Linked DNA regions of Homo sapiens: regions 1 and 2 are each linked to region 3. The links are contacts of gene promoters, found by promoter capture Hi-C in human tissues and cell types (Jung and others, 2019). All regions are on one chromosome and are shown on one strand. Each heading gives the region's core, a stretch centred on a gene start or on the middle of the fragment in contact. The rest is flanking DNA. Distances are from core to core; before and after follow the strand shown.

The links. Contacts are between HindIII fragments. The study calls those that stand out against the background at their distance.
Region 1: a contact is called between a fragment that was not itself captured here and the fragment with the promoter of HPS4 in region 3, in 1 of the 25 tissues and cell types used here (dorsolateral prefrontal cortex).
Region 2: a contact is called between a fragment that was not itself captured here and the fragment with the promoter of HPS4 in region 3, in 1 of the 25 tissues and cell types used here (mesenchymal stem cells).

The regions. Positions count from the first base shown.
Region 1 is chr22:27,816,902-27,819,601 of GRCh38, reverse strand. No RefSeq gene overlaps it. Among named protein-coding and RNA genes, the nearest start is that of MN1, 16 kb to the right of the region's middle. The HindIII fragment of the contact is 5,315 bases long and covers 1-2,700 here.
Region 2 is chr22:25,427,857-25,430,556 of GRCh38, reverse strand. No RefSeq gene overlaps it. Among named protein-coding and RNA genes, the nearest start is that of MIR6817, 26 kb to the left of the region's middle. The HindIII fragment of the contact is 6,166 bases long and covers 1-2,700 here.
Region 3 is chr22:26,482,464-26,485,163 of GRCh38, reverse strand. HPS4 (HPS4 biogenesis of lysosomal organelles complex 3 subunit 2) reads left to right here and starts at 1,381. Exons shown (of 14, transcript NM_022081.6): 1 at 1,381-1,490. It overlaps SRRD (SRR1 domain containing), which reads right to left and starts at 1,287. Exons shown (of 7, transcript NM_001013694.3): 1 at 1,065-1,287. The coding sequence starts at 1,273. RefSeq lists a silencer at 1,104-1,193 and an enhancer at 1,214-1,333. The HindIII fragment of the contact is 11,927 bases long and covers 1-2,459 here.

The sequences.
Region 1 (2,700 bases), core at 151-2,650, 1.3 Mb before region 3:
GTTCACTTTTAAATGGTCAATTTTACATCCTGTGAGTTTCGCTTCCGTAAAACAAACAAACAAACAAACAAACAAAAAACCATGACTTGAAGGCCGAGGTGGGAGGACAGCTTGAGCCCAGGAATTTCAGACCAGCCTGGGCAATATAATGAGACCTCATCTCTGCAAAATTTTTTTTTAAAAATTAGCTGGGCATGGTGGCGTGTGGCTGTAGTCTGGCCACTTGAGAGGCTGAGGTGGGAGGATCGCTTGAGCCTGGCAGGGTGAGGCTGCAGTGAGCTGTGATTGCACCATTGTGCTCTAGCCTGGGTGACAGGGCAAGACTCTGTCTCTAAAAAAAATAAATTAGAAAACCCAAAATGTGACTTTTCACAGTGACTCCAGGGATAGGATTTCAGCTGTTCCCTCTTACAGATGAGGAAGTAAAGGCTCCAAGAGGGTGCTGGCCTTGCTGAGTGCCGGGATGGACCATGATCCTCTGGCAGTCTGGGCCTGTCTTCTGCAGACCCCTCTGCAGCAGCCTTGACATTGCGCTGTGCGCTTCTGTCAAACCCTCTGCAGGCTTCCCCCAGCGGCCCAAGGTCAAGGTGAGTATGGGGTTCTGTCAGGAATTTGTCTTAGCAGTGAGGACCCCAGCGTCTCCAGAAGGGAGCTTGTCAAACCAACTTGAAGGGCCTGGTGTTCCTGAGACGTATTTCCATCAGGCAGGTGAGCCAGGCTCTTCGGCCGCCTTCGTATACGCCTGTAACTGCCAGGAGACACTCAAATGCCTGTGCCAGAGGATCCACATTTCTCTGGGCATCCCAGGCCCCGTGGAGACAGGTCTGTAGCTAAGACGTTCAGAGAGGGCATGGCCCCTTCTCGCTGTTCAAACCCAGGCCTTTTCTATGCGAGTGTAGAGGTGACCCCATGCTCTAGTCACCTCCAGTGCAAAATTAGATTCTGCTGAACTTCGAGTACTTCTTGGGTAGTTGTCTTTGGTTGGAGGAGTCATGCCTGATATTTCTTCTGGGGGTTGGAAGAAGATGGTTTTGATTTTCTGAGACTAAAGGATCTCACAATTGGAGGTCAGGAGGTGGGTTCCAGCCTCAGTGGGGAGTTGTTTCTAGCTTGCTTTGTGATCCTGGGAAGCCTTCTCGACTCTGAACTTCATCTTCCTTATGGTGCTTTGTTCTGGCCAGAGTATTAGAGGGATCCAGGAAGGAGAATGTGGTCTCAGCTTGTTCTTTCAACCCATGCCACATACTATAGAAATATGATTGTCACCACCCAGAGCTGGACCTCATCTTCTTCGGGCAAAACTATAATTGCATGTGGATTTTTTTTTTTTTAGACAGGGTCTCTGCTGGAGTGCCGTGGCATAATCATAGCTCACTGCAGCCTCAGCCTCCTGGGCTCAAGTGATCCTCCCATCTAAGCCTCCTGAGTAGCTGAGGAGCTGGGAGCATGGGTGCATACCACCACACCTAGATATATATATATATATATTTTTTTTTTTTTTTTGAGACAGAGTCTCGCTCTGTAGACTAGGCTGAGTGCAGTGGCGTCATCTTGGCTCACTGCAACCTCCGCCTCTTGGGTTCAAGCAATTCTCCTGCCTTAGCCTCCTGAGTAGCTGGGATTACAGGCGCCTGCCACCATGCCTGGCTAATTTTTTTTTGCATTTTCAGTAGAGACAGGGTTTCACCATGTTGGCCAGGCTGGTCATGAACCCCTGACCTCAGGTGATCTGCCTGCCTCGGCCTCCCAAAGTGCTGGCCCCAGCCACGATATATATTTTTTTATTAAAAAAATTTTTTTTTGTAGACATGAAGTCTCACCATGTTGCTTAGGCTGGTCTCAAACTCCTGGGCTCAAGTGATCCTCCCACCTCAGCCTCTTGAGTAGCGGGGATTGTTACAGGTGCACCACTGTGCCTGGCTAATTTTTATTTTTGGTAAAGAAGAGGTGGTACATGCCTGTAATCCCAACAACTGGGGAGGCTGAGGCAAGAGAATTGGTTGAACCCAGGAGGCAGAGGTTGCAGTGAGCCAAGATCGTGCCACTGCACTCCAGCCTGGGTGACAGAGCGAGACTCCATCTCAGGAAAAAAAAAAGAAAGAAAAGAAAAAGAATCAAGGTGTGCTGAGTTGACTAGTTTACCCTGAAAACTCACATCCACTTGGACCCTGTGAATGCGACCCTTTTTTGATAATAGAGCCTTTATAGATGCAATCACATTAAAATGTGGTCATATTGGATTAGGGTGGGACATAAATCCAATATGACTGGCGCCCTTAGAAGAAGAGGAAGATTTGAATACAGGGACACACAGGAGGACACCACATGAAGACAAAGGCAGGGATTGGAAGGATGCCTCCACAAGTTCAGGAAAGTCAAAGGTTACTGGGAGCCACCAGAAGCTGGAAGAGGTGCGGAAAAGCTCTCCCCTAGAGCCCAGGAGAGAGCAAGCTTCTGCTCCCACCTTGATTGCAGAAGTCTGGTCTCCAGGACTGAGAAAATAAAGTTTTGTTGTTTTAAGCCACCAAGCAGGAGGTCACTACCCGTCCTGTTTCAGCTGCTCAAAGATGATTTTTTTCTATGTGACATAGTGTTGAGACTGATGGAAAGAGAATGGCTTAGAGAAAAGAAGGAAGGAAGGAGGGAGGGAGGAAGTGAGGAAGAGAAGGAAGAGAAGGAAGAAAGAGAGGGAAGGAAGGG
Region 2 (2,700 bases), core at 94-2,593, 1.1 Mb after region 3:
CATCCTCTGCTCATTCAGTCTTCTTTACCAGGTGGCCACTGTCTGTGTCCCATTCAGGGCCCAGACCCCCTCCCTCCCTTGTCCCCTGCCCGCCATGAAGGCCTGGCCCAGTGCAGGGCCCAGCCATGCGGCAGAATGGAAGGAATTTTTGGGTGGTGAGCAGGGTGGCAGAGCACGTGGTATGGCAGACAGGTTCTAGGGTCTCTGAGATGATCCCTCAGCGTGCTTTTATGGGGGCCCATGTGCACCTGCCATATCCCTGTTGAGAGAAGGGGCGCTGAGGTCACTCCTGTGCCTTTGCTCACACCCATCTTCCAGCATGCCCTTCCTCCCTCTGCCCTCCAGCCCTGGTTGCAGCTCCCAGGCCTGTCTGAGGTTGCCACTGCCCCCAGGCCACCTTTGCTGACATGGAATCCCCAGTATCCCCTGCCCCTCATTTTCTTCACAGAGGGTCTTTCCTGCAGCCTGAGCTCTGGACTGGGCAGGGACAAGTACTCCCAGGGGACCCCAGTGCCACAGTCCCCTTCTGCCACGGTGCATGAGCAGGCACACTTCAGGTCTCACCTGGGGCTGGGCTAGGCCGATCCTGCCTTGCCTGGGACATCAGGAGCTGAGGGTCTATATAGGTCAGGCCCCAGGAAGCCTCAGGGGGCTTGTGGAAGGGTGGGTGTGTGTGTGTATGGACAGATATATGGATGGACAGACTGATGGAAAAACGGATAAGTAACTGTCCAGTCTGAAGTCCTGCCCATGAAGGAGAGACCCTGGAAGGCCTCTTGGGGGCAGCTGTGCTTCCAGGTTCCTTGTCACTACCCAAGACCTTAGGGTCCCACGGCAGCAATTGGAAGGGTCCCCATTTCCCTTTCCCTCCCTGTAACTGGCCAAGCCCCCTGAAATATCCAAGGTCTAGAGGCAGCAGGTGGCGTGTGACCTGCAGGTACCCACTTCCGGCTTTGGCCAATCCTGCCCACCCTGGGTCCCTCTGAGCTCTGAGTGTCTGGCTGTGCCCTACAGTTGGCCATAGCTCTGCACCTAGCATTTTGAACAGTTCCTACAGAGCCCTGAGAAGGGGGCAGGGCCTGCATGAACAGAAGCTTCTGGAGCAGAAGATGCCGCTTCTGACCCTTCACTGACTGCGATCTTGAGACCCTGTCTAGCTCAGGTCTGGGCACAGGGCCTGGGCACCTCGGTGCTGGATACAGGCCCATTTCCCAGCTGGGCTGGTGGAGGCTTCATTAACCGAATCCTCCCCTACCCCTATGTCCCCACCCCCACCAGCTTCCCCTCTAAAAACCATTTGGCAATTTTTTTTTTTTTTGAGACGGAGTCTCGCTCTGTTGCCCAGGCTGGAGTACAGTGGTGCGATCTCGGCTCACTGCAAGCTCCGCCTCCCGGGTTCACACCATTCTCCTGCCTCAGCCTTCCCAGTAGCTGGGACTACAGGCGCCTGCCACCATGCCCGGCTAATTTTTTGTATTTTTAGTAGAGACGGGGTTTCACCGTGTTAGCCAGGATGATGTCGATCTCCTGACCTCGTGATCCACCCACCTTGGCCTCCCAAAGTGCTGGGATTACAGGCGTGAGCCACCACACCCGGCCGGCAATTTCTAATAAACATATGCTTATGCATATCAAGCAAACCCTACTCCTAGGTTTTTATCCAAATGGAATGAAAACTTATGTTCAAACAAAAATTTGTTTGCAAATACTTATACTGGTTTTATTCACCATTGGCAAAAAGCAGAAACATCTGTATACACACACGGTGCACATGTACCCTAGAACTTAAAGTATAATTAAAAAAATTAAAAAGAAAACACCTGCTATTCAAAACACACACACACACACACACACACACACACACACACACACAGAACAGCAGAAACATCTGGTTTGACCCACCACACACATACACACACCCCACAAGTGGAAACAACACAATTGTCATTCAGCTGGTGAATGGCTAAACGAGATCGGGACCATCCTGGCTAACACGGTGAAACCCCGTCTCTACTAAAAATACAAAAAAATTAGCCGGGCGTGGTGGCAGATGCCTGTAGTCCCAGCTACTCGGGAGGCTGAGGCAGGAGAATGGCATGAACCCGGGAGGCAGAGCTTGCAGTGAGCCAAGATCTCGCCACTGCACTCCAGCCTGGGTGACAGAGCAAGACGGAGAATCAGACTCAGCAATAATAGGGAACAAACTATTGATCAATAAGGCAACTGGGATGAATTGCAACATTGTTACACTGAACTCAGGAAGCCAGACTCAGAAGGTTACATACTTAGACTCCTATTTAGTATTAAAAAGGAACAAAGTATGTTGCAACCGAGCCACCTGGAGGAACACCCAGAAAACTATGCTGAGTGGGAGAAAGCCAGTCCCCAGAAATCACATACTGTATGATTCCATGTGCAGAACATTCTTGAAATAACAAAATTACACAAGTGGAGACCAAATTAATAGTTGCCAGGGGCTAAGGAGGGGTTTGGGACAGTGGGAAGAGAGTGTTTCTGTGAAAGGGCAACATGAGGGATGTTTGGGAGGGAAGTGTTCCCTTCTTGCTGTATCAATGTCAATCTCCTGGCTCTGATCCGTTACTGTAGCTGCAAGGTGCTACCGTTGAGGGAACTGGCCGGAGTACCTGGGATCCCTCTGTATGTTTCCTCACAACTGCATGAGAAGCTACAATTATCTCA
Region 3 (2,700 bases), core at 132-2,631:
GGAGATCGTGACAGTGTCAAGGGATATGAAAAATGCCTTGAGTTTTCCAAACCCCTAGGCACATTCACTCTCACTGGCATCCTCTGAGAGCTTAAAAATAATCGCAGGTGCTTTTTATTCAGGCTGAGCCAAATGGTCAGCAACTTTCTCTTCAGAGGTAAACTCTGGGACATTACTGCCTCTTGACCCTAATTCTAGGGGAGAGGAGCACACAAAATTAATCTAATTTCTCCCCTTGTGACGGCCCTTCGGATGCTGATCTTAAGTGCTAACTAAAGCTGTTATTTATTGAGCCTAAACAAAACTGCGAATAAAGATAATAATACTAAATAACAATAATAAGTAACATTTATTGAGTGTTTCCTCTGTATTAGGCACTCTCTATGTACTTTCTAAGGTACAGAGCAAGGTATGTGAGAATCTGGGCTGGGATAAGCAACAAGCATAATGGAAAGCTGGAAGCACTGGTTTTTGTCACAAAGACCTGGGTTTGAAATCTGGTTCCACACATTTTCTTTGTCTCTTTGAGAATCAGTGAGCTACCAGGGTCCTAGTATGCCTGCAATGTTTAACATAAAGTGTGTAGAATGATTAAGCTAATGTCAGGCACATAGCAGCTGCCTGATGATAGCAGTCACGTGTTCATGTTGCTTCCCTCGTGTCACCACCACCAATAATATCAACATCGGCATAATATTAATAGCAAACACTGGCACAGTGCTTACCACGTGCCAGAAAATGGTTTCCGTTTACTAATTCATTGAATCCTCAAAACAAACCTACGTATGTACTATTTTCATCCCCATCTCACAGATGAGAAAACTGAGGCACAGAGATTATAAATTGTCCAAGGTCACGCAGCTGTAACCGTAATAAAAGGAAAGACGACCTTTAACTGAGCGCTTACTATAATCCACATCTTTAATGAGCTCGTTACCTACGTTAACTCTTCACAATAACTCCTTAAAGGGTGTGCATTATATCTCCACTCTACAGATGGGGAGACTGTGGCTCAGAATTGCCCATGGGCGCAAAGATTCCATCAGGGCCGAGCCTGCACTCACTCAGCCTCCCAGATGCGACGAAGCACGACTCCGCTGTCAGACTCGAACTCCGCCTCGGGGCCCCGGGGCGCCGCCTCTCTCCCCCGGGGCGCCGCCTCTCTCCCCCGGGGCGCCGCCTCCCTCCGCCGCGGCCGTCGAGCCGCGGAGCGCCTCTTCCGCGGAGCCGCCGCCTGCCAGGATTCCAGCGCCGCAGCTGCGGCCGCAGCCATTGGTCTCTGACGTCAGCGGCGTGCGGCGCACTCGGCACGTCATCGCCGCGCGCCGGCTTGCCAGGAGCTGGAGGGGGAGGTAGGCGGGGCGGCGCGTGACCTAAGGCCTCTCTGCCGCGCGCGCAGGTACGGGGCAGAAGTCGCAGGTACCCAGCTGCTGCCCACATTTCTGGTCCAGAGTCCCGAACCCCGAGCACTGGGATGCCTGGCTACTCCGGTGGGTGGGCGGCGCTCGGAGCGCGGGGATACCGAGGGGCGGGCCCCCAGCTTAGAGCGTGACCCGACCCCGCCTAATCCTTAGGCGTTCGCCCACCATTTCCCAGTCCCGTAGAGCTGGGGCCAGACACCGCACAGCCCTAGTGCTGTTACCAGTCGCTGCCTGCGCCCCGGGGGCTGCGCCCAGCAGCTTCCTGGCCCTTTTCCAGCCATTAGCGTCCGTTTTCCAGCCCTGCTGCCCCACTGAGGCCCCTTCCCACAGCAGTATCACCAGCCCCAGCCCCGCGTTGTTACTATTACTTCCCAGGCTACCAGATCCTTTTCTGCTCATGTTCCGACGTCTCTTCCTACTCCAGGGCCATTATTGGTCTCTTCTGGACCTTTCAGAGATAAGAGAGGACCTCGGTAGTGTAGGGCCCAGTCCTCTGGGAACAAGGGATGGGGAGTTTTAGGCTGCTGTCCTTGGTTCCAGTAACAGAGATACCCCCTCCACAGGCACCCAAATATGCTCCATAGAATACAATGAGTGTGGTCCTGTGGAGGCCCAATCCAAAATATCTAGAGCTGAGAAGAGATAGAGATTTTACAGGCCGTCAAATATTCAATGGGGGTCGTCTCTAGAGACTTTTAACAAACTGTATTGTGTACCCACAGATTGCAGAATGGTGAGCAAACATTTGAGACCATGTTGCTAAAGCATTAAGCTTGGAGAAAGTGACAGTAAGAATTAGACAATAGTTTTGAAGTGACCAAGAGGTTGTCACATGGAAGAATTAGACCTTGTTTTGTGTTTTCCTGCAGAGCGTTATCCAGACTAGCGAGTGGGAGGCAGATGTAAAATCTGGAACGCAGATTTTAGTTTGTTGGAAGGAGAAATGTAACATAGTGAACCACGCATCTCTGGAGGGTGTAAAGCAGAGACAGCCAAGGTAATTTTTGGAAAAGAGTGCAGGAGAGTAGAGTAAACGATGCCAGGGTTCCTTCCGACTCTGAAATTCCGTGATACACTGAGCTGTCTTTCTCTTGTGGAAGTTTGAAAGCCATTTGATAAAGTTCTCTTCATTTTTTAGAAATTTGCCCTGCTCTGGAATTCTGCATGTTCAGGTTACTTTTGGACTGTCAAGATGACAGTTCCTTAATTTGGGTTCCATTATTACCACAGCAACTGGTTTATTTGTATAGCTGTCCACACCTAGAGCATTTTCACCCTG